7 separate regions of the Homo sapiens genome follow, and all the other regions are linked to region 4. The links are contacts of gene promoters, found by promoter capture Hi-C in blood cells and fetal thymus (Javierre and others, 2016). All regions are on one chromosome and are shown on one strand. Each heading gives the region's core, a stretch centred on a gene start or on the middle of the fragment in contact. The rest is flanking DNA. Distances are from core to core; before and after follow the strand shown.

Region 1 (3,196 bases), core at 555-3,054, 310 kb before region 4:
GAGGTTGCAGTGAGCTGAGATCACGCCACTGCACTCCAGCCTGGGCTAGAGTGAGACCCTGTCTCAAAAAAAAAAAAAAAAAAAAGAATTTGTTGAAAAGCCCAAATAAAGTCTTTACTCTCTATCTGATCATAAAATGTGACTCTTACAAATTAGACATAAAAATATCCAAGCTGATATCTCCTTGCCTATAAAGCAAGAAAAGGGACATTTCTCCTTTGCAAATCCTAAGCTTAGGCTTTTCAATTTTCAGTCAGTCGCCTAGGCTGGAGTGCAGTGGCATGAACATGGCTCACTGCCTTCAGGGCTCAAGTGATCCTCCTGTCTCAGCCTCCCGAGTAGCTGGGACAACAGGTGTGCATGACCATGCCCAACTAATTTTTTTGTTGTCGTTGTTTTGTAGAGATAGGATCTGGTCATGTTGCTCAGGCTGGTCTTGAACTCCTGGGCTCAAGCAATCCTCCCACCTTGGCCTCCCAAAGTGCTGGGATTACAGACATAAGCCATTGAACTCAGCCACGATTATAGTCCTAAACACCCTGTATGAAAATACTTTAATACAAAAATGATGCTCTTCTTTGTCCTGAAGTTGTCATTATTTCATCTTCAAGATTAGAACTTCTTTGAATGTAGGAAGTGGTTCTTATTCTGTGTCTCCCACTATGCCTTAAGAGAGGGCCTCATATGGAGCTCTAGCATCTCTCGCTGATGCTTTCTGACAATCTCTTGCTCTGTCACCTTTGTACTCCTAAGGCCATCAGTCCTTTAGTTAGAGAATCATTCATTTAAAAATCTTTCCAAAGTACACTAGTCCCTATATCCTGTAATTACACAAGAAAGTCTAACCAGTGCCAAGTTCTGTTAAACACTTGGAGAAGAAGGGGTAGGAATCTCGATTGCTTTGCTTGCTGTTCATAAGGAAGAATTTAAGGCTGTCACAAGCAGGCCATGCCTAGGAAAGATTCTGGTAAAGATATCTTTCTGCTGAAGGCACCCGACCTGTGTTAGCTCTGAGGAATGGGCTAGAAGCAGACAGAACACCTACCATAAGCTATATATACTAGCAATACAGAGAGGACTTCCAAGGTCCTACAAGATCCTGGCATCCCTCTGACCTCATCTCCCACCACTCTCACCGCAGCAGACACAGGAAACAGGAAGGAATGGACAAGACGGGAGTGGTTGACAACGGGTCCAACTAAAAGGCACGACGCTAGAGGGTATCGACCAGATCCTGAAGATGGGGAACGGTCAACAGTCTTGAAACAGAGGAGTGACACGGTCCCGGATGCTCACTTTGAGTGCAAAGTGGGGACCGGAATGGATGCAGAGTACAAAGGAGGCAGGGAGACCACTTAGGAGAAGAACCACGGAGCGAGGATGGGGCTGCCTGACGCGTCTAGGAGAAGGACTTGTAGAATGGATCCAGAGGGATGGCAGGAAGCCATGAGCTCAGCGTAGGGCAGGATAACCCTACAGAGACTGTCTACGGGAGCCTGAGGGTCAGGGCGGGAGGGAGAAGGTGGGACCTGAAGGAGGAAGTGAAAACCCGCAACAGCCGAAGGCTGCGGGAGTCCTCTCAAAGCATCTCCCCGGCGCCCCAGCCCAACCACCTCAGCGGCCTCCCTCCTCCCCGCCTCCCCTTGCTGGCCCGCTGACCGAACGAGTTGAGAAAGTCTGCGATTTTCTTGATGCTGCTGGTGATTATCTCAATGTACTCCCGGTTAGCCCAGTCCTGGTGAATCTCCCGCTGCACCGGATCCTCCTGTCCCGCCATGGCCGCCGCCTGAGGAAGAGCGACTGCGCAGGCGCCCCGACCCTACAGGCCTCTAGTGCGCCTGCGCTGCCAGGCCACACCCATCCTCTTGAGCACCCACGAATTCTCGGGCACTATGATAGGCCTGTGCAACGTCACGTCCTCGCCGGCGTTTGCTCTCTACTCCCACGCTATAGAACACAGAAGCCTGGACGCCGGCGGCGAGGTTGTAGTGCACGCGCGTTATGGTCGTTACACGGCGCGTGGGGTCTTGCCGTCTCCCTCAACTGCTCCAGGCTCAGGTTGCGCACTCAGTGTCCGCAGTGAGATGGGCACAGTCGATTAAATCACATTAAATACAAGTCTTTTTTTTTTTTAGACGGAGTCTAAAAAATAATATGGTCATAAATAGCTGGGCACACTGCAAACTGGAACAGTCCCTTTCAGAAGGAAATTTGTGTTTTTGTGTTGTTTTTTGAGACAAGGTTTTTTCTTGTTTTTTGTTTTTTTGAGACGGAGTCTTGCTCTGTCGCCCAGGCTGGAGTGCAGTGGTGTGATCTCGGCTCACTGCAACCTCCGCCTCCCAGGTTCAAGCTATTCTCCTGCCTCAACCTCCCGAGTAGCTGGAATTACAGGCGCACACCACCACGCCCGGCTAATTTTTTTGTATTTTTAGTTGAGATGGTGTTTCACCATGTTGGCCAGACTGGTCTCGAACTCCTGACTTCAGGCAATCCGCCCGCCTCGGCCTCCCAAAGTGCTGGGATTACAGGTGTGAGCCACCTCGCCCAGCCTGAGACAAGGTCTTACTGTCGCCCAGGCTGGAATGCAATGGCATGATCATGGCTCACTGCAGCCTCGAACTCCTGGGCTTGAACTCCTGGGCTCAAGCTATCCTCCAGCCTCAGCCTCTGGTGTAGTTGGGACTACAGGCTCACGTCACCACGCCTGGCTAATTTGTGTATTTTTTGTAGACACGGGGTTTCACCATGTTGGCCAGGCTGGTCTCGAACTGACAGGTGATCTACCCACCTCGGCCTCCCAAAGTGCTGGGATTATACGCATGAGCCACCATGCCCGGCCTATTATGCAGTCATTTAAATGCTAATTATGAACACAAGCAACATGAAAACACATACAATAAATTGAGGGGAAAAACAAAATACCCTCCCTCCCTCCCTTCCTTCCTTCCTTTTCTTACTTTTTTTTTTTAAGACAGAGTTTCTCTGTTAATGCCCAGACTGGAGTGCAATGGCACGATCTTGGCTCACTGTGACCTCTGCCTCCCGGGTTCAAGTGATTCTCCTGCCTCAGCCTCCCAAGTAGCTGGGATTACAGGTGCCCGCTACCACACCTGGCTATTTTTTGTATTTTTTAGTAGAGACGGGGTTTCAGCATGTTGGTCAGGCTGGTCTCCAACTCCTGACCTCAAGTGATCTG
Region 2 (2,909 bases), core at 183-2,682, 340 kb after region 4:
CCACTGTTTATCTTCTTACCTTCTTCCCCTTAGCACTTAAGACTTCTCACCATTTTCCTGAATGCTTTTTTCCTTCTCAAAAATATCCTTCCCCAAACTAATCTAGTAAGGTTGTTTTTTTTTTTTTTTTTTTTTTTTTGAGAGAGAGTCTCCCTCTGTTGCCCAGGCTGGAATGTGGAATGCAGTGGCGCAGTCTTGGCTCCCTGCAACCTCCCAGGCTCAAGCAATTCCTTTGCCTTGGCCTCCCGAGTAGCTGGGATTACAGGTGTGTGCCACTGTACCTGGCCTAAGCTGGTCTTTAAATTATTTTTAGAGATGGGATCTCACTGTTGCCCAGGCTGGCATGTAGTGGCACAATAATGGCTCACTGCAGTCTTAAACTCCTGGTCTTAAGTGATCTTCCTGCTTCAGCCTCCCAAGTAGCTGGGACTACAGGTATATGCCACTACACCTGGCTAAGTTTTGTATTTTATTTTTGCAGAAATGTGGTCTCACGATGTTACCCAGGCTGGTCTCAAACCCCTGGCCTCAAGCAATCCTCCTGCCTCAGCCTTCCAAAGCACTGTGATTACAGGTGTGAGCCACCATGCCCAGCCTAAGCTGGTCTTTATACGTGACACCTTTTTGATATTTCACAATGTGTCACAGCCTTTGCTACAAAAAAGGCTCCCCACCTCTCTGTACTAGAATACAGCAAAGAGTATGGCCATTAAAATGGTGATTAGAATGGGTCAGGGTGGTGAAATCTGTTCTATTATTGATGAGAAAGGTAAAATTTCCTTAAATTGCAAGTGAAACCATGCCTTGGACCTTTTACTATTTAATATTTTCCTTCCCTCCTGGTATTCTAACATTATGCATGGACTGTATTATTAAAATGATCACCAATTAAAAAAAACAAAACAAAACAAAACCAAAACCACTTTATATTTGCAGTGTTTAATAGTTATCCCAAATGCTACAAGGGATAAGGAACACACTGAGTACTGAACCCGCTTGTTTTGCAAAGTGACTTACCTTCTGATTTTCTTTTTTTTTTTTTTTTTTTTTTGAGACGGAGTCTTGCTCTGTTGCCCAGGCTGGAGTGCAATGGCGCGATCTCGGCTCACTGCAAGCTCCGCCTCCCGGGTTCACGCCATTCTCCTGCCTCAGCCTCCCGAGTAGCTGGGACTACAGGCGCCCACTACCACGCCCGGCTAATATTTTGTATTTTTAGTAGAGACGGGGTTTCACCACGTTAGCCAGGATGGTCTTGATCTACTGACCTCGTGATCCGCCTGCCTCAGCCTCCCAAAGTGATGGGATTATAGGTGTGAGCCACTGCGCCCGGCCTCCTTCTAATTTTCATAATTCCACATTTATAATAAAACCTGTATTGATAAAGTATGACACTCTATTCCTATAATCTTATGCCCTCCAGGGAGAATTCCTCTCATGATACCTTACTATAAAGCTCTAGGTGCAAACTGCAAAGTCAATTGCAAGTAGACAAAGTCAAGTTAGAAAGGCCTGAATCAGCTGCTTTATTATCTGGCTGAAAGAATTTCATAAATAATCTGGTAAAGAGTAATTTCCCTAGATAACTGATATGTAACCAGGAGGTTTTTTCCCTCACCCAGAAAGAGGTCTGCTCCAAAAGTAGAGGTCTAGGGTAAGAAAGAATACAGTTCTGCTTTCAATGTTGCTAGCTGCCTCTTAGTTACTCATAAAAGCTAAGTATTCTGAATCCTCATACTTGGAAAAGCTGAATAGGAAACGTAAGATTGGTTAAAATGTTCACCTTTCTCAAAAAACACATCTGGAGAAGTGCAAACAAGGGGGCAGAGCAGCAGAGTGTGTTTAGTGGTCAGAACAAATTTTTCTGAGAAGGAAAAAAGAGACAGTGTCCATTTTAATTACAAATCAAAGTAACATGCAATAGATGAAGTGTTTTAAAAAAGTATACATGGATTCTATTGAAACCTGCTGTCACCCAAACCTGAACACTAAAGTGATTCAAGATTACTTTTTGAAACAGCTGAGGCAGACATTTCTAACTTAATCCAACAGTGAAGGTAATAAATTTGTCTCATGAATACATGTTGCTAGCCTCTTGTCTACTTCTGATTCCTAAGACATTATAACAAAGAGGGAAAGTAACCTGGAGTGGAAAAAACCCACATTCGCCATAAGCCATACCCCAATGTTTTCTAAATCTCTGCTAAGGCCACAATGAAAATACCAAACAACCTGGGAAAGACACTTCACTTATTTAAAGGCCTAGAAACGAAGACACAATCAATCAATATCATCTGTGCTCTCAGGCTAGTGTTACTAACAGATACTACAGGCAGCTAGAGGCCTATTTTGACCAAAGTATACAGTAAAGATAACGATGGAGATCTAGCATGCTTACTACCTAAACTTATGGAGATTGATGGACTGCATGCAAAAGATACATGAATGGGATTTGTGGTAGCAGTATGCCTATTTTGGGAAGCATAGGGGCTGCCAAGATGAGAGGCTACCAGGTAACAGGCCACAATGACCCTGAGGTTTCCCATTCTCTTACTGAGATGGGGAAGAAAGATAGTAAAGAAACATTTGGAATGGTATTATATTTGAAATGAGAAGGTACAAATGATGATTTTCATATCCAGCACTCCCAGCAACCAAACCCAAATCACCTCAAACTGTAGAGGAGTGTTGCAGCGACTAGCAGTAGTAAGAGATGTGACTGGTGAAAACATGAGGCTGTATCCATTTCGACACTCCTCTTCTCCTGGGTGAGATGAGCCAGGTGTGGCCAGCTGGGGACTCTTTGAGCCTGAATTGGGAGGGGGTGGTGTGACTGGAGACAGAGGCCGAAGTAACTTGGTGACATTCTGCTCCATCAGATAGCGAGACTTCCATTTCTTTAATGGGCTCAA
Region 3 (2,800 bases), core at 23-2,522, 370 kb after region 4:
TGATTAGTGAAAGCTTCTTCATACTGGTCAGTCCATAGTCTTATCCGATTTTCCCAGCCCTCAGTTGTATTCTCATCTAAATTCTGTGCTTCAGAGGGAGAATTCTGTAGAAAACAAATTCAGGGAGGTTAGTAAAGTCCATGCATAAATAGAGGGTTGGGAATGGGGGTGGGACAAGCTGGGGTTCCAGAGAAAATTTATCACTTGGCAATTGATGTGGCATAAAAGAGTAATGGACTGGGAGTCAGAGGATCTGGTTTCTATCATGCTTTTGTTACCAATGAGAGGTGAGACCTTGAATAACTTCTTTAAATGGGGAAGCTCAGTTTCTCCATTTATAAAGTAAGAAATTAATCTGGATCATAGTTTCATCCCATCACTGTGATTTTATGACCATTTTAAAGTCATAAAAATCAATTTTCTAATCAAAGGACTGACATCAAGTTCATAAGAAAATCTTCATACAAATGAACAGTAGAGACCTCAAATTTATCACTGCTTAAATTTTTCATACTCACTGAATATCTGTGTTAAGTGTTAGCCCAAACTGGTTTTTTGACTATTCTCCAGGAGAATGCATGTTTTTGTATCACTTATTATTTTCATAATACATGTTCATTCTAAACCTAGATGTGATCTTAATCAATCAATCTCATTAATCCAATCCCAATCTTACTACCCATATAAAAAGTTATTATTTGAGTATATCTTTCTAACACTCTATTTTCAACAATTTAAATTACCACATTCTAAATAATCTGAAGAGGTGAAGTGAGGGGAGAGGAGTAGGTAGGGAGAATATAGAAAATGTCTAGGAGGTACTTTGCTATACTCCTCTAGGAAAACCATTGCCCTCTATGGTGACAGTATTGAGAAAAGATTACTACAACTCAGGAACAGCTTCCTAGGCAGACAGTGCCTGAGCTACAGAGACAAAGCATAAGCCCAATACATGTTCTCCTCCACGGTGTTCAAGACTTAAGTGCCATCAGAAAACAAAACAAACACTGACAGTGATGATGTCATGCTAGTGATGATTAGAAGGAAAAGACACTGTAGTACCAAAGCTACTTGAAAATCCATGTCCACATTAAACTTGCAAACAGGTACAATAAAATTAAATATACTTTCTATGAATGGCACAGAAAACACTGATGCTTATCATAACACTTTCTTTTACCACTTTTGCATCACTGTTGCTGACTGATTATTGTCTACTATCCTTTCTGCAAGGAACAGGAGTATAGAAGAAAAAAAATCAACACTATTGTCTCCACATTTCTTACTAGAGTCCAAAAGACTGAACAATAAACAAAGGGATCTAAAGAAACACCTAAAGCCAACATACTGACAATCAGAGTATCGCCTGCTTGACATCAGTAGCAGTTGCGCAAAAGAATAGTGCAAAACCTTAGGCTTAATGGAGCTTACAGACTAGGGGGACTGGCAGTGTCCAAACAATATTCCCAGCTTTAAGTGGCAATTGTTAAACTTACACTTGATAAGTGTACTGTATTCTGGAAGCCTCTGTCACAGTATTAGCCATTGTTCGCTAATCTCACTGTGTGTTTACTCTGCTGTCCCATCCTTCAAGGCATTAGAGACTCTACCTCAGTTGGGTTTAGAGTAGTGGTTCTCAATTGAGGGAAATTTTGCACCCAGGTGACATTTGGTAATATCTGAAGACATTTTTGATAATCTCAACTGAGTGTATGAGTGTTACCGGCATCTAGTGGGTAGACACCAGGGATCCTGTTCACATCTTGAAAGCACAGAACAGTCCCTTCCACAACAAAGAATTATCTGGTCCAAACTGTCAACAGTGTCAAGACTGAGAAACCCTGATTTACAATTAAGTCTTCAGTAGGGAAGCTGCTCTTGACACTGGGATTAAAAATCCAAATGATAATTTTTTCTAATTCTTATGGCTCCCACCTGGATCACTGGAGGAGTTTTAAACTAGTAATTCTGAGCATAAAATTTATAACTCAATTTAGAATTAAAAGAATCAAAATGACTAGTAATTTTTTTTTCTAAATTTTAACACACCTGTGAGGCTGTCAACCTCCCAAAACTGTAAGCAAAATATGGGGTTTATGTGCAGTTTTCTGGTAGAGCCAGTTTATAGCTTTTGAAAGGTTTCGAGCTTCTGGAGATAAGTTATGATAGTTGCTTGATAAGAGAAAAGCATTTAGTAGCCAGGATTAGGGCTATTATCTGCCTCCAAAGTCTATTTAAAAGGCCCCTCTCTAAGCAAATGAGACAAAAATAAAGGGGAAGCTAAAGCAAACTTGGCCACTTGCAAGAGACGGATCCAGCAAAGGCATGATTGATTTGTCTTCCAAGACACATCCCAGGCCTCTGATGCTCTGTAGCTCTGAGTCCTCTCCCAACTCTTTCACAGGTATGTGCAAGTCTGTTTAAAGATAGATACTAAGTGGGGCCTTCAAACTTTAGGTAAAGTGCTACCTGTAATCTTTGCTAACACCAGTCACACTGGTGCTGCACATAAAGCAATCCTAAAAAGCTTATCCTTACTGAATTTTTTTTTTTTTTTGAGATGGAGTCTTGCTCTGTTGCCCAGGCTGGAGTGCAGTGGCGTGATCTCGGCTCACTACAACCACTGCCTCCTGGGTTCAAGCGATTCTCCTGCCTCAGCCTCCCAAGCAGCTGGGACTACAGGTGCCTGCCACCACGCCTGGCTAATTTTGGTATTTTTAGTAGAGATGGGGTTTCACCATGTTGGCCAGGCTGGTCTTGAATTCCTGACCTCAGGTGATCCACTTGCCTTGGTCTTCCA
Region 4 (3,095 bases), core at 283-2,782:
AGGAACTGAAGGGAGACCAGAGTGAGTGGAACATGGAAAATGATGGGGAAAGCCCCAGAGGAGGTAGGCAGTGGCCAGACTGTGGAAGGCCCTGCAGGCCTTGGAACGGACTTGGATTTCATACTAAGAGTGTCATGAGCAAAAAAGGCTAACTGAGGGAATCTTTCTAAGCTTGGCTTGCTGCTGTATTACAAAAAGATGAGGGGACAGGATGGAGGTAGACCAGCTAGGAGGCTGTCATAGTTTGCCTAGGAGAGAAATCACAATTACTAAAATGAAGGTGGTTACAACACAGACGGGAGAAGGTGCTAGAGTTGAGAATCGTTTTGGAGGTGGAGATGACAAGTGGTTTTGCTGATGGAATTAGACCTGTGGGTGAAGAAACAGAAAGATGAGATTTCTGGCGTGAGGAACTGAGAGATGGGAAAGACTGGAGACTGGGGAGGACGACAGGTTTGGGCAGGAAGATCAAAGTCTGGTTTGGGACATGAATTTGAAATGCTTGTTAAGTTTTCTGGGTGTAGATGACAGGTAGGGGCTAGATCTACGGGATGTGGAGTTCGAGGCTGGGCTGGAAGGGGCACGGAGAGGGTGCAGCACACTGACTGGACTCAGCCAAGGACACAGCCAAAGGAGACAGACCTGGGGAAGGGGCCAGGGGGCCACTAATGGCTGAGGAACCTTTAAAGGCCGCTGAAAAGCAGCAGCCAAAGAGGGAGAAAGGAAAACTAGGAGCGTGCAGTCAGACAGCCAAGAGGAAGGGTGTGTGGGGCAGCGGTGTCGAAAGATACAGGGTGCCCAACCGAGATCAAGACCGAAAGGCACTGCTGGGTTTGGCTCCCTGGAACTCACCAGGCACCTTGATTAGAGTGGGACATCGCAGGGAACCAGAGTGGAGGGAGCCCAGAAGTTTGGTGCTGAAGGGGTAAACGGGGAGGTAGTTGAAGATGGGTGTGGTGGTTGAGGATTTTTGCTATTGTTTTTTCTTTTGCTTTTGTTTTTTAAGGATATAAGAAAACAGCGCAGGGAGACAGGCTGAGCCGCTCCCAGGGCCCTTTCTAAGCGCCCCTGCCCCTCCTCTGACCTTGACAGCTCTCTCCACGTAGATTTTGGCGTTTCTGAGCCGGTTCATGTGAGACGCCTTGGAGGATCCTCGCCAGAGGACCGGGAAACCTGCAGAAAGATGCGGAATAGGGGCGGGGTACACTGAGGCTGGGCCTAGGGTCTCGGCCTAGGATCTTTTCTGGCCGCCCATAGCCACGCCTCTTTTCTTCCTCCTGCCTTCATCCAGATGCCCACCCTCAGCCGCTCTTCTCCCGACCCCCAGTCCCTCCACCCCAGCGTCTTGTCGTCCTCGCAGCCGCTGTAGGCCAGAGCGAGCGGGCCGCACGGGCCTCACCATCCTGCGGAGAGGGGTCGAGGACCGGGGTGTGCGGGGGGCCGAGGGGGTGGGTATCCGAGGCGCCCTGGGCGTGGGTGCCTGGGACCAGCGTCTTGAAGGCGCCGCTGAGGCGGCGCGCAGGGGCGGGGCTGCCCGCCTGGCATCTGCCGCCTGCGTGACCCTCCTCGGACTGGGCGGAGGCAGGGCCGGCCCATGGCAGCCTCCTGGGTGGACGGAACTCGGAGCGGCGCGCCGAGGGGAAACTGGTGCGTGGCTCGAGCGGCTGCGGCTTCCGCAGCCAGTTGCACACCGCGCCGCCCTCCTGGCGGTACCAGGAGGCCGAGCCCCGGCGCCCGGGCCCCAGCTCCCTCGCGCTCAGGAGCAGTGGCGCGTCGGGGCCCTGCATGCGCCCCTCGCCGCGCTCGCCCTCCCAGGGCCCCTGATCCCGCGCCCCTCCGCGTCGCCGCCTCCTCTCCCGGGAAGTTCCTGCCTAGGCTCGAGCCTTGTCCTCCGTTCCAAGCCCCGCCCCGTTTGCTATTGCCTTGGAAACCATTCCCTGGGCACCATCAGACCGCTCGGGGCTGGTTGGGGGCTGCGATGGGCCCCGGGGCAGTCGAGCGAGGGCTTCCTTATGACCTGGGGCCTCACCCAGACCCTTGATGAGCAGGGCACTGAAGGCGGAAGAGAGCACTGAGCCCCAGTTAGTTAGTGTTGCGGTTCCTTATCCAGTACTTCCTGGTGCCACCGGCCCTAGGGTTTGAGTGATTCCACAGTATTTATAGGCGCTAACAAATGGCCCCTGACCTCATGGAGCTTACTAAAAGCCCAGTGTGAGGGGAATAAAAAGCAAGTAACAAAGGAAGAGAATAGTTTACAGGTATAATAAGGGCAATGAACAAGCAGAGGTGAAACCAGGAAGGGGGCGCATTTTAGATAAAGTGGCGCATTTAAGCTGAAGGTGTAAATGCCAGGAGTCAGGAGTCACCAGGGAAAGGGGAGGAACTGCACTTCAGGGAAGGGACAGTCCCAGCAACAGCCCTGAGAAGGGTAAGAACCTCTGTGCGAACTACAAGACAGCCAGGGTGGCTGGAGCCTGGTGAGGCCAGATCAGACCTGCTGGGCCTGGCAGATGGGCCTAGGGTAAGGTCCTTAGCGAGGGCAGCATATGGGGGTAACAAGAAGGTGCAGAGCACACCCTCCCCAGAAACTGGAAATGGAAAAACAATCATTTGAGTCAACTGCGAAAGAAATGTAATAGTTCACAACAGTTATGCCTGGCCCCCAGGCTAAGACTGTAAGCAACCTTTTTGGAAGCACTGGCAAAATATTATCCTCAAAAGTCACAGGGGAGGTAAGGCTCCAAGATGTTAAACAATTTGCCTCAAATCACAGAGCAGAGGCAGCACTGGAACCCAGGTCTGACTCCAAAGCCTGTCTCTTAAACACCTGTTATCACTCAGGTTGCCTGCCAGTCACAGAAGGACCACACAGGGACAGTTTGAGAGGCAAACTCTAGCAGTGCCCCCGCAGGCAGAGTCGAAGAGTGTCCTGGTAAGAGCCCAGCTTTGTCAGTCACTGGGTAGATGTGCTCTTAAGAGTGAAGGTGGATCCCCCACCTTCCTGTCCAGCTGACCCCAACTCCCCTTTAGCTGATGGCTGGACTTCCCGAAAAGCATGCCCCCCAGGAAAGGTGATTTAGGGAATTTGGACCCTG
Region 5 (3,160 bases), core at 424-2,923, 350 kb before region 4:
TATCTGTATCTACAATGTACTTTGCAAAAATGATCTTATGTCATTCTTACAAGCCTATACTATAGATATTATTATCCCCATTTTACACAGAAGTAAATAGATTCCAAGAGGTTAGGCGAGGTCACGAAGGGCAGATAAGTAACTAGAGTAGGTACCACTGTATAGCTGTGGCCGTCAGCTATGGAGTAGCGCTGCAAAAGGAGGAAGCTGAAATCAAAGTGAGAAGTCCTAGGGCCAAGTTGCAGTTCTGCCACCAACAGGCTTTGTGACTCTGGACAACTCATTTCATTCGTCAAGCCTTGTTTCCAGCATCTGTAAAGTGGGCCTGCTCCTTCCTACTGCTTAGAGTTGTGAGGGGAGTGGAATAAATCAAATTATGTAGCCTATATAGAACACCTACTACAGGGCTTTCCTCGCACAGAGAATGTGCCCAAAAAATGGTAGCTGTCATTAGTGGTCTTGAAAAGGCACCCACTGGCCTTGGAGTCCTATCAAGTTTGGAGACCTGGTTCAGCCACTCTCCGGCTCTTAGTCCTTTGAGCCAGTTCTGTTTTCCCTTTTGGAAACTGGATCTCCTGCTGCAGCCACTTGGAAGGATTGTTATGAAGCCTAAATGGACTCCAAAACGCTCAAGATCAACTGTGAAGTGCTGAGCCCAGTAAAGGATTACTATTATGTCCTCCTTGATGTTGAAAGTGGGACATATTTCAGTGTTCTGAGACTACTTTTCAAGTGAAGTCCTGTGTTTTCAGCAGTGGCTGAAGGTGGACTTGGGAACTGTAATGATTGTTTGCCATAGGCTGGGTGGAGAAGCATCTCCATCCCAGGCACACGGGGGTAAAAGAGAATAAAGATCCTCTTCTTTTTCTCCTTTTCTCTTTTTGCAGAGTCCCCTACCTGCTTCTCCTTCTCTTCCGCAAGCAGCGTGTGTGTAGAGCTCCTCCCTCAGTGCCACAGGGCCTCTTCCCTGGGGTGAGGCTTTAAGACCACGGAAGTTTCACATTCAGCCTTGGTCAATCCTGGAAGGCAGAGGAGCCCCCACTGCTCTCTCTGCTGCATCCTCAGGCCCTTCCCGCAATTCCTTCTCACCCCAGCCTCAGGGCTTGGGATCTGTGTCCTAGGATTCTGTCTTCCAGAGAAGCTTGAGTCATTTTGGGCCTGAGCAGGTCATCACAGGGACACATCTCAGTTACCACTCTTTAGAATAAGTTCTTCAAAGTAAGGTCTTTGCTATTACTAATGGTTGCCCTTCACCTACCAACTCACCTAGCAGGCATTTAGCATACATTATCTGTAATCCATACAACCCTGCAAAGGTTTATTGTTTCTGTTTTACAGATGAAGAAACTGAGGCTGAAGTCAATTGTAACTGGGCCAAGTTGGCCAAGTGACAGTGAGGTAGGGGGCAGCACTCGACTCGAAAGGAATGGCTGGGACATCGGACCAAATTGAGGACTAGCTAAAACAGGTGTGGTGGGAAGTACCTCGCATAAGACACTGCCACCAGTGTACCTTGTCAGTTTACCATTGCCATGGCGACTCCAAGAAGTCACCGCCCCTTTCTAGAATGTTCTGCATAAACTGCCCCTTAATTTGCATATAATTAAAAGTGTGTATAAATGTGACTGTAGAACTGCCTCTGAGCCACTACTCTGGGCACACTGCCTATGGAGTAGCCCTACCCTGCAAGGAGCAGTACCTCTGCTGCGGCTGCACACTGCTATTTCAATAAAAGGTGCTATTTAACACCACTGGCTGGCCCTGGAATTCCTTTCTGGGTGAAGCTAAGAACCCTCCCAGGCTAAACCCCAATTTGGGGGCTTGCCTGTCCCGCATCAACAGGATGCAACTCAAGTCTGACCCAAAGCAAATGCTCTTTCTGCTGTGTTATACTGCCTCACCACAAGAAATTTCCTCTGATCTTGCAGTTAATTTCTTCCTCTGGCTATTTTCCATGACCAACACCCACCAGGATCAGTTAGAAACAGTTATTGAGGCTGAATGTAATTAATTACACACTTACGTCATTTTGAGCTGTTCAAGTTTAATTCCCTTGAAATTATAGTCAGTGGTTTGCAACCCTGGCTGCACAGTAGAAACATCTGGGGTGCTTTTAAAAAGTATAAATGCCTAGCCCTACCTCCAGGGAGACAGATTCAATTATTCTGGAGTGGGGCTCAGGCACTACTGTTTTTTAAAGCTTCCCAGATAATTCTAATATGTGCTGGCACAGTTGAGAACCAGTCATATCAGAAAGCTGGGGCAGAGGCCAAGCATGGTGGCTCATGCCTGCAATCCCAGCACTTTGGGAGACCGAGGTGGGTGGATCACTTGAGGTCAGGAGTTCGAGACCAGCCCAACCAACACGGCGGAACCCCGTTTCTACTAAAAATACAAAAAAATTCGCTGGGCGTGATGGCACGCACCTGTAATCCCAGCTACTTGGGAGGCTGAGGCAGGAGAATCATTTGAACCCGGGAGGTGGAGACTGCACTGAGCCAAGATCATACCACTGCACTCCAGACTGGGGGACACAGTGAGACTCCATATCAAAAAAAAAAAAAAAAAAAAAAAAAAAGCTGGAGCAGGAGGGAAGACTGATGAAAGGAGAATAATAAAGCTTCTCTATGCACTTTGCATATATTTTTCTTTTTTTTTCTCTCTTTTTGAGACGGAGTTTTGCTCTTGTTGCCCAGGCTGGAGTGCACTGGTGTGATCTTGGCTAACCGCAACCCCTGCCTCCTGGGTTCAAGCAATTCTCCTGCCTCAGCCTCCTGAGTAGCTGGGGTTACAGGCATGTGCCACCACACCCAGCTAATTTTGTATTTTGAGTAGATACGAGGTTTCTCCATGTTGGTCAGGCTGGTCTCAAACTCCTGACCTCAGGTGATCCACCCACCTCGGCCTCCCAAAGTGCTGGGATTACAGGCATGAGCCACCGCGCCCGGCTATATTTTTTTTTAACAAAAATATCTTTATTGGTTTCTCTGATAGCATGTGATATTTGTCAAAGACAGAAAGAAAGAGAAAACAAACACCTTCCCATAACCTCATCCCTGAGGAATCACCATTATTGTTTGGAGTATATACTCCTTTTACATGTTTTTAGTCCTATACAAAATGATTTTTTTTTTTTTTTGAGAAGGAGTCTCACTCTGTC
Region 6 (2,876 bases), core at 1-2,500, 330 kb before region 4:
TCTTACCTAGGGTTGGCTAGTTCCTACTCCATCCTGCTCTCTTCCTTCTCCGGGAAGTGCTCCTTAACTGAAACCACACAACCGCAACCCCTCCATCTCCCAGCAGGCAGGTAAGTCAATTTCCCACGCCACACACGGTCGGCTCTTCCGGCGCCAACATGACCCTGGCTTGTTCCTGTCTTTGCATCTGTCAGTCTCCCCAGGAGGAATGTGTTCTCCACGAGGGCAGGGACTACGCAGAACTGGCCCACTGGAGTCATGAGGACTGAACAGATGGGGTGTTAAGGATGCAGCTTTTCTTTGAGGGGAAAATACACGTGGGGTGGGGGACTGGGGGGAGCCACCTTCAAATGCAAACTATTCGGCCTTATAAAGAATGCTCTGGGCCGGGCGCGGAGGCTCATGCCCATAAGCCCAGCACTTTGGGAGGCCGAGGCGGGCGGATCACGAGGTCAGCAGTTCGAGACCAGCCTGACCAACATGGTGAAACCCCGTCTCTACTAAAAATATAAAAATCAGCCGGGCGCGGTGGCGCACGCCTGTAATCCCAGCTACTCAGGAGGCTGAGGCAGGAGAATCGCTTGAACCCGGGAGGCGGAGGCTGCAGTGAGTCGAGATCGCGCCACTGCACTCCAGCCTGGGCGACAGAGCGAGACTCCGTCTCAGAAAAAAAAAAAAAAAAAAAAGAATGCTCTGACGCTTACGAGCAGCGTCACCCTGGATGTGTCCTGCCTCAAGGGGCCTCAGTTCCCCGTCTGCAAAATGGACCCCGGGGCGGTAGAGGGGCTTCAGACCGTGCTATCGTCCCTGCTGGGTCGGGCCTAAGCGCCGGGCCCGTACCTCGGTAGCTGTGGATGCGGCGGCCCGTGCCAGGCGGCAGCGTTGGGTAGGGCTGCGGCTCGCCGTCGAAGTTGAGCCATACGGGCAGCACGACGCGCGGACTGCGATTGCAGAAGATGACCTGGGAGGGCTCGCGCGAGTTCACCGAGCGCAGCACGGGCCGCGGCCGCCCGGCCTCCATCTCCTCCTCGGCGCCCAGTTCCTCCGGGCCGGACTCTTCCGGGCCGGACTCCTCGGCGCCCGACTCCTCCCCGCCGTCTTCTTCAGGGCCGTACTCTTCGACGCCTGCCTCCTCCGCGCCTACCTCGGCCTCGTCCCAGTTCTCCGCCCTCCGGGGCATTCCCTCCGCGATCCAGACCACCCGGGCCGGACGCCGCGGGATCCGCGGGTCGGACGCGGGGCGGAGCTGCGTGCGCGCTCCCGAGTCGACCTCCGTAGTCTTCGCGCGCGCTCGGTAGAGGATGGAACGCGCTCGCGGAAATAGCCGGCCGGAGGCTGTGCGCGTGCGCAGAAGGATCCTCCAGCACCGTAGGCCGTTGTAACGGAGGCGAGGCTAGGCCAACTCGTTACTGTATTTCCACTATAAAATTTTTTTTCGCCCCTCTAAGGTTTGGTGTTTTTTTTTTTTTTGAGACAGGGTCTCACTCTGTCGCCCGGGCTGGAGTGCAGTGGCGCGAGCTTGGCTCACTGCAGCCTTGACCTCCCTGGCTCAAGCGATCGTCTCGCCTCAGCCTCCCGAGTAGTTGGTACTGTAGGCGCGCACCACCATGCCCGACTAATTATTTTTATTTGTTGTTTGAAACGGAGTCTCGCTATGTTGCCTAGGCTGGTCTCGAACTCCTGGGTTCAAGTGATCCTCCTGCCTTGGCCTCTCAAAGTGCAGGGATTACAGGCCTTAGCCACTGTGCCTGGTGGACTAACTGAATTTTTTTTTTCTTCATGTCAGACGCGCAATGTGCCGACGTCGTAACAAGGTTCGAGGGTGGCGCATCTCACACGGGAACACCCAATCATCACGCTTATAAAGTACAAAAAGTCAACTAACTGAATTCTTACAAGGCATGGGTGATTAGTAAAGAGGGAAAAATAATTAGACCTACTATGTGCAGAGCACTCTGGTGGAAATTGGAAAATCAGATATTTACTTCAGAGCAATTAAAACTACAAACATAAACACTCATTAACTTTGTTCATTTTACAAATATTTATTAAGGCCCTACTATGTACCACCTATGGTGATAAGTGTTGAAAATATTGTAAAAACCGGTCATGTTTCCTGCCTTCACTGCACTTCAATAAAAGCGTCATACGGTAATCAATCACACAAATAAAATAGCAACTATGGCCGGGTGCAGTGGCTCATGCCTGTAATCCCAGTACTTTGGGAGGCTGAAGTGGGCTGATCACAAGGTCAGGAGTTCTAGACCAGCCTGACAACATGGTGAAACCTCGTCTCTACTAAAAATACAAAAATTAGCCTGGCGTGGTGGTGCGCGCATGTAATCCCAGCTACTTAGGAGGCTGAGGCAGGAGAATTGCTTGAACCCGGGAGGCGGAGGTTGCAGTGAGCTGAGATTGTGCTACTGCACTGCAGCCTGGGTGACAGAATGAGACTCTGTCTCAAAAAAAAAAAAAAAAAAAGTGCAACTGTGACTAGTACGACAAAAAGAGACAGGGTACTATAGAAGGCTAAAGATCTGGGGGTCAAGGAAGATGGTACACAATTCTGTGTAATTAAATGTTCAATGATGTGGGATGGACTCAAGTGGAGAAGCAGCTCAGAAAAAGAAGGGTTCAGAGAGTTTTATATTAGTTAAAAATAATTTTTTTTTAGACAGTCTCGCTTTATCACCCAGGCTGGAGTGCAGTGGCTCAGTCTCAGCTCACTGCAACCTCCATCTGCCGAGTTCAAGTGATTATCGTGCCTCAGCCTCTGGAGTAGCTGGGATTACAGGTGTGTGCCACCACACCCAGGTAATTTTTGTACTTTTAGTAGAGACGGGGTTTCACCATGTTTGCCAGGCTGGTCTTGAACT
Region 7 (2,889 bases), core at 388-2,887, 440 kb before region 4:
TAGCCTATGAGTCCCCAAGACAAACAGTCAAATACAGCCTCCTTTCTCAGCTACACAAAAGAAACCACCAAGGCTAGGCTTAAAAACAAACACATATTCCTTAGGGCCTGTTTTAATTGCTTTTGTAAAGTAATTTTCTCTAGAGGCAGCCCATCTGATCCCAAATAAGACTGTTTCTCCACTCCTCCACAGGCAGAACTTCTCACTTCTTAAGACTCAGACCTTCAAAATCTAGGATGCAAACTCTAAGGGGAAAGTGATCTGTTTTGTTAGTAAAGAATCCCAAACACCTAGAACATTGCCTGGCACAAACTAAACCCTCAACACATATTTGTTCAAAGCCTTGATTGAGTAGATGAGCGAAATGTATCTTCTCTGTGAAGCACTCCTTGGTCTGCTCAAAGTACTTATGAAACCCTCTTGCATGTTTCCATTAGGGAATTAACAATTTAACCTCCAAAAAAAAAAGAAAAAAAAAAAAAACTAGCACCACCAAGCAAAACCCCAACATGCTGGAAACTATGACTTTGGAGAAAAGCTACACCAAGAACCGCAATTCTTGGTTCTGTGATTCAGAGTGGTTCAAAGTACAAGGGCACACAATTCTTTAAACTGACAACTAAAATAAATACATTCTTCTCTTGAGCACATAATCCACCTTCTACTGCAGTGATTCTCCAACGGGGCTGCACGTTTACAATAACCTGGGGAGCACTGAAAAATCTGGAAGCCCAGACCACACCTCAGCCCAATAAATCAGTTTCTCTGGAGTAGGAGGCAGGCCCAAGTATTTTAAAGCTTTCCAAGTAGTTCCAAAGTGCTGCCGAGTTTGAAAATTACCTCTCTACTTAACTTCAGGCCACGCGCCTGGAAGACTGCTAGGTCTTCGAGTTTGGGGGGAGTGGACTTCTAGAAAGACCTTCCAGACCTTCAAGGATGTAATGTTTTGTAGTCTCCTTCCACCAAAATTCCCATCCCCAACCTCTCAAGCCATGTGGAAGGGGCTTCACCGATTGCAAAGCGTGGCAGCCACCTACCTTAAGGCTGCAGGCTTCCTCCTCTAGAGAAGCCATTTCTTCCAAAGAGGCGTTGGCAGGACGCAGAGGGGATCCCCCTGAAGACAGGAACCCCCGAGTGTTCCGAATCAGGCAGCCTTTGGAGGCGGCCCCGCCCACACCAGGGCCCAAGAAATGTGGGGAGAAGGAGGAGGAGGAGTTATTTCTGCGGCGGGATGAGCCCCAGGATAACCTCCGCGAGCAAGCCACATCGTCCTCCTTCTGGGCTTTCAGGCGCTTGGGGCTGCTGGGCCCTCCAGAACGCGACGCAGACCTCTGAGCTGGCCGGCTGGAGGGGGCCACATCACAGGGCTCCCGGAGGCAGCTGCGCTTGCGGGGACACCCTTCCGACGTGCTGCTCCAGTTGTGCTTGACCTTGCCCCGCTCGGACGCCATGGGCACCTGCAAGGTACAGGGGGCCTGGATTCCAACACCACCCTTCCTGGCGACCCCACCTCAGATTCCCGCCACCCCGGGCCCAGGAGGACGGCAAGACATAAGGGCAGAGCCAGGGGCTAGCCTCACTGACCTTTCCCTCTTCTTTCCACTGCCCATCACAGTTCTCAAGGTTTCAGAGATGCCAAACCGTGTTGGAGAAGTCAAAGCGATCCAAAATTGACTAAAGGCTGCCGTCGGTTTCCAAGCCCACAACGTGCTTCTGAGATCAGGAAGCCTTCACTTTGCCCAGCGCTACTTCGGAGATGCCTAAGCGCTTCCGGGGCTACGAAGCGCTTTGATCAGTTTGCAATATAAAGCCCTTTAGAACTGTCAAGCGCTTCAGAAGACCACATGGCGCTTCAAGATCCACACATGGCTGCCGGATCCGCGGCCCCGGGGCCGGGCGCTTAGCCCGTAGGCCAGGGCCAGACCCGGGCGCCGCAGCCCGCCCTGCTCCTGCGGCCCAACCAGACCCGGGCCGGAAGGGGCCCGAGCGGCCCCTCGGGAGCTGGCAGCGCCCTCGACCGCCAACTCAGGACGCCCCCCGCCGGCTGCCGCAGCTGTCCCGCCGGGCAGCCCGCCGCCTGCCCCAGCCCTACAGCCCCGCCTGGCCCGGCCTCCGCCCGAACTGCGACCACTCCGGCCTCCGTGGCGCCCGCCCTCCGGAACGAGCCCTGCGGCCCGCAGGCCGGAGAGCGACAGGGGCGGGGCCTGCGCCAAACGGAAGGCGCCCATTGCTCGACCCGGCAAGGGGCGGGACTCCGAGCAAGACGCAGCCCGCCTCAAAGCCAGGCGCCTTGGAGTCGGGACGGTACGCCTTAGGAAGCTCGTCCATTGGTCAGAAGCCAGATGGGGCGGAGCCACTCACGTGGGCTCGAACAGCGGGAAGTTGAGGCCAGCCAGATGTGCAGGCAGGTGGTGTCCGCTGACGCGCCTCACTTAACGCTGTTTTCCTCAGCGCCGGCCGCTGTACCTGAAGCTTTCAGACCTGGATTTCTCATCGAGCCAAAGCAAACCGTGTACTGAGCATTATCACCCCACTTTATAGAGCAGAAAACTGTGGCTCAGAGAGACTAAGTACACACCCAGAAATGGGAAGAATTAGAATTAGAAGGCACCAAAAAAAAAAAAAAAAAGACTACACAAAAATGTGAACTATCCGCCTGGTGAAAAATATTAAAGACGGCTGGGCACGGTGTCTCACGCCTGCAATCTCAGCACTTTGGAAGACCGAGGCGGGAGGATGGCTTGAGCTCGGGAGTTAGAGACCAGCCTGGCCAGCATGGTGCGACCCCCATCTCTACAAAAAATAAAATTAGCTGGGCGTGATGCCAGCTACTCAGGCTGAGGTGGGAGGATCACTTGAGGCCGGGAGGTCGAGGCTGCAGTGAGCTGT

What was found. Contacts are between HindIII fragments. The CHiCAGO score rates a contact against its expected background, and 5 or more counts as called.
Region 1: the fragment with the promoter of BRK1 here is called in contact with the fragment with the promoter of TTLL3 in region 4 in 16 of 17 cell types (total CD8 T cells, naive CD8 T cells, activated CD4 T cells and 13 more); the score reaches 18.6 in total CD8 T cells.
Region 2: a fragment that was not itself captured here is called in contact with the fragment with the promoter of TTLL3 in region 4 in 1 of 17 cell types (neutrophils); the score reaches 5.1 in neutrophils.
Region 3: a fragment that was not itself captured here is called in contact with the fragment with the promoter of TTLL3 in region 4 in 1 of 17 cell types (neutrophils); the score reaches 5.5 in neutrophils.
Region 5: a fragment that was not itself captured here is called in contact with the fragment with the promoter of TTLL3 in region 4 in 7 of 17 cell types (monocytes, activated CD4 T cells, erythroblasts and 4 more); the score reaches 8.1 in monocytes.
Region 6: the fragment with the promoter of VHL here is called in contact with the fragment with the promoter of TTLL3 in region 4 in 1 of 17 cell types (total CD8 T cells); the score reaches 5.6 in total CD8 T cells.
Region 7: a fragment that was not itself captured here is called in contact with the fragment with the promoter of TTLL3 in region 4 in 14 of 17 cell types (monocytes, total CD8 T cells, megakaryocytes and 11 more); the score reaches 9.0 in monocytes.

The regions. Positions count from the first base shown.
Region 1 is chr3:10,114,283-10,117,478 of GRCh38, reverse strand. It overlaps BRK1 (BRICK1 subunit of SCAR/WAVE actin nucleating complex), which reads right to left and starts at 1,804. Exons shown (of 3, transcript NM_018462.5): 1 at 1,660-1,804. The coding sequence starts at 1,777. RefSeq lists enhancers at 1,207-1,256, 1,707-1,996. The HindIII fragment of the contact is 6,229 bases long and covers 235-3,196 here.
Region 2 is chr3:9,464,430-9,467,338 of GRCh38, reverse strand. SETD5 (SET domain containing 5) reads right to left here. Exons shown (of 23, transcript NM_001080517.3): 18 at 2,667-2,909. Among named protein-coding and RNA genes, the nearest start is that of SETD5, 68 kb to the right of the region's middle. The HindIII fragment of the contact is 2,998 bases long and covers 1-2,909 here.
Region 3 is chr3:9,437,760-9,440,559 of GRCh38, reverse strand. SETD5 (SET domain containing 5) reads right to left here. Exons shown (of 23, transcript NM_001080517.3): 8 at 1-104. Among named protein-coding and RNA genes, the nearest start is that of SETD5, 42 kb to the right of the region's middle. The HindIII fragment of the contact is 2,514 bases long and covers 16-2,529 here.
Region 4 is chr3:9,808,699-9,811,793 of GRCh38, reverse strand. It overlaps TTLL3 (tubulin tyrosine ligase like 3), which reads right to left and starts at 1,532. Exons shown (of 14, transcript NM_001387446.1): 1 at 1,400-1,532; 2 at 1,085-1,173. The coding sequence starts at 1,132. All of the region lies in intron 4 of ARPC4-TTLL3 (ARPC4-TTLL3 readthrough), which reads right to left. RefSeq lists a silencer at 1,351-1,830 and an enhancer at 2,311-2,460. The HindIII fragment of the contact is 3,571 bases long and covers 174-3,095 here.
Region 5 is chr3:10,159,460-10,162,619 of GRCh38, reverse strand. No RefSeq gene overlaps it. Among named protein-coding and RNA genes, the nearest start is that of IRAK2, 3.9 kb to the left of the region's middle. The HindIII fragment of the contact is 1,059 bases long and covers 1,144-2,202 here.
Region 6 is chr3:10,140,152-10,143,027 of GRCh38, reverse strand. It overlaps VHL (von Hippel-Lindau tumor suppressor), which reads right to left and starts at 1,250. Exons shown (of 3, transcript NM_000551.4): 1 at 841-1,250. The coding sequence starts at 1,180. It also overlaps the pseudogene LOC124906359. RefSeq lists an enhancer at 1-333. The HindIII fragment of the contact is 16,438 bases long and covers 1-2,876 here.
Region 7 is chr3:10,247,763-10,250,651 of GRCh38, reverse strand. It overlaps TATDN2 (TatD DNase domain containing 2), which reads right to left and starts at 2,193. Exons shown (of 8, transcript NM_014760.4): 1 at 1,585-2,193; 2 at 1,038-1,457. The coding sequence starts at 1,451. RefSeq lists an enhancer at 757-1,625 and a silencer at 1,878-2,307. The HindIII fragment of the contact is 1,674 bases long and covers 801-2,474 here.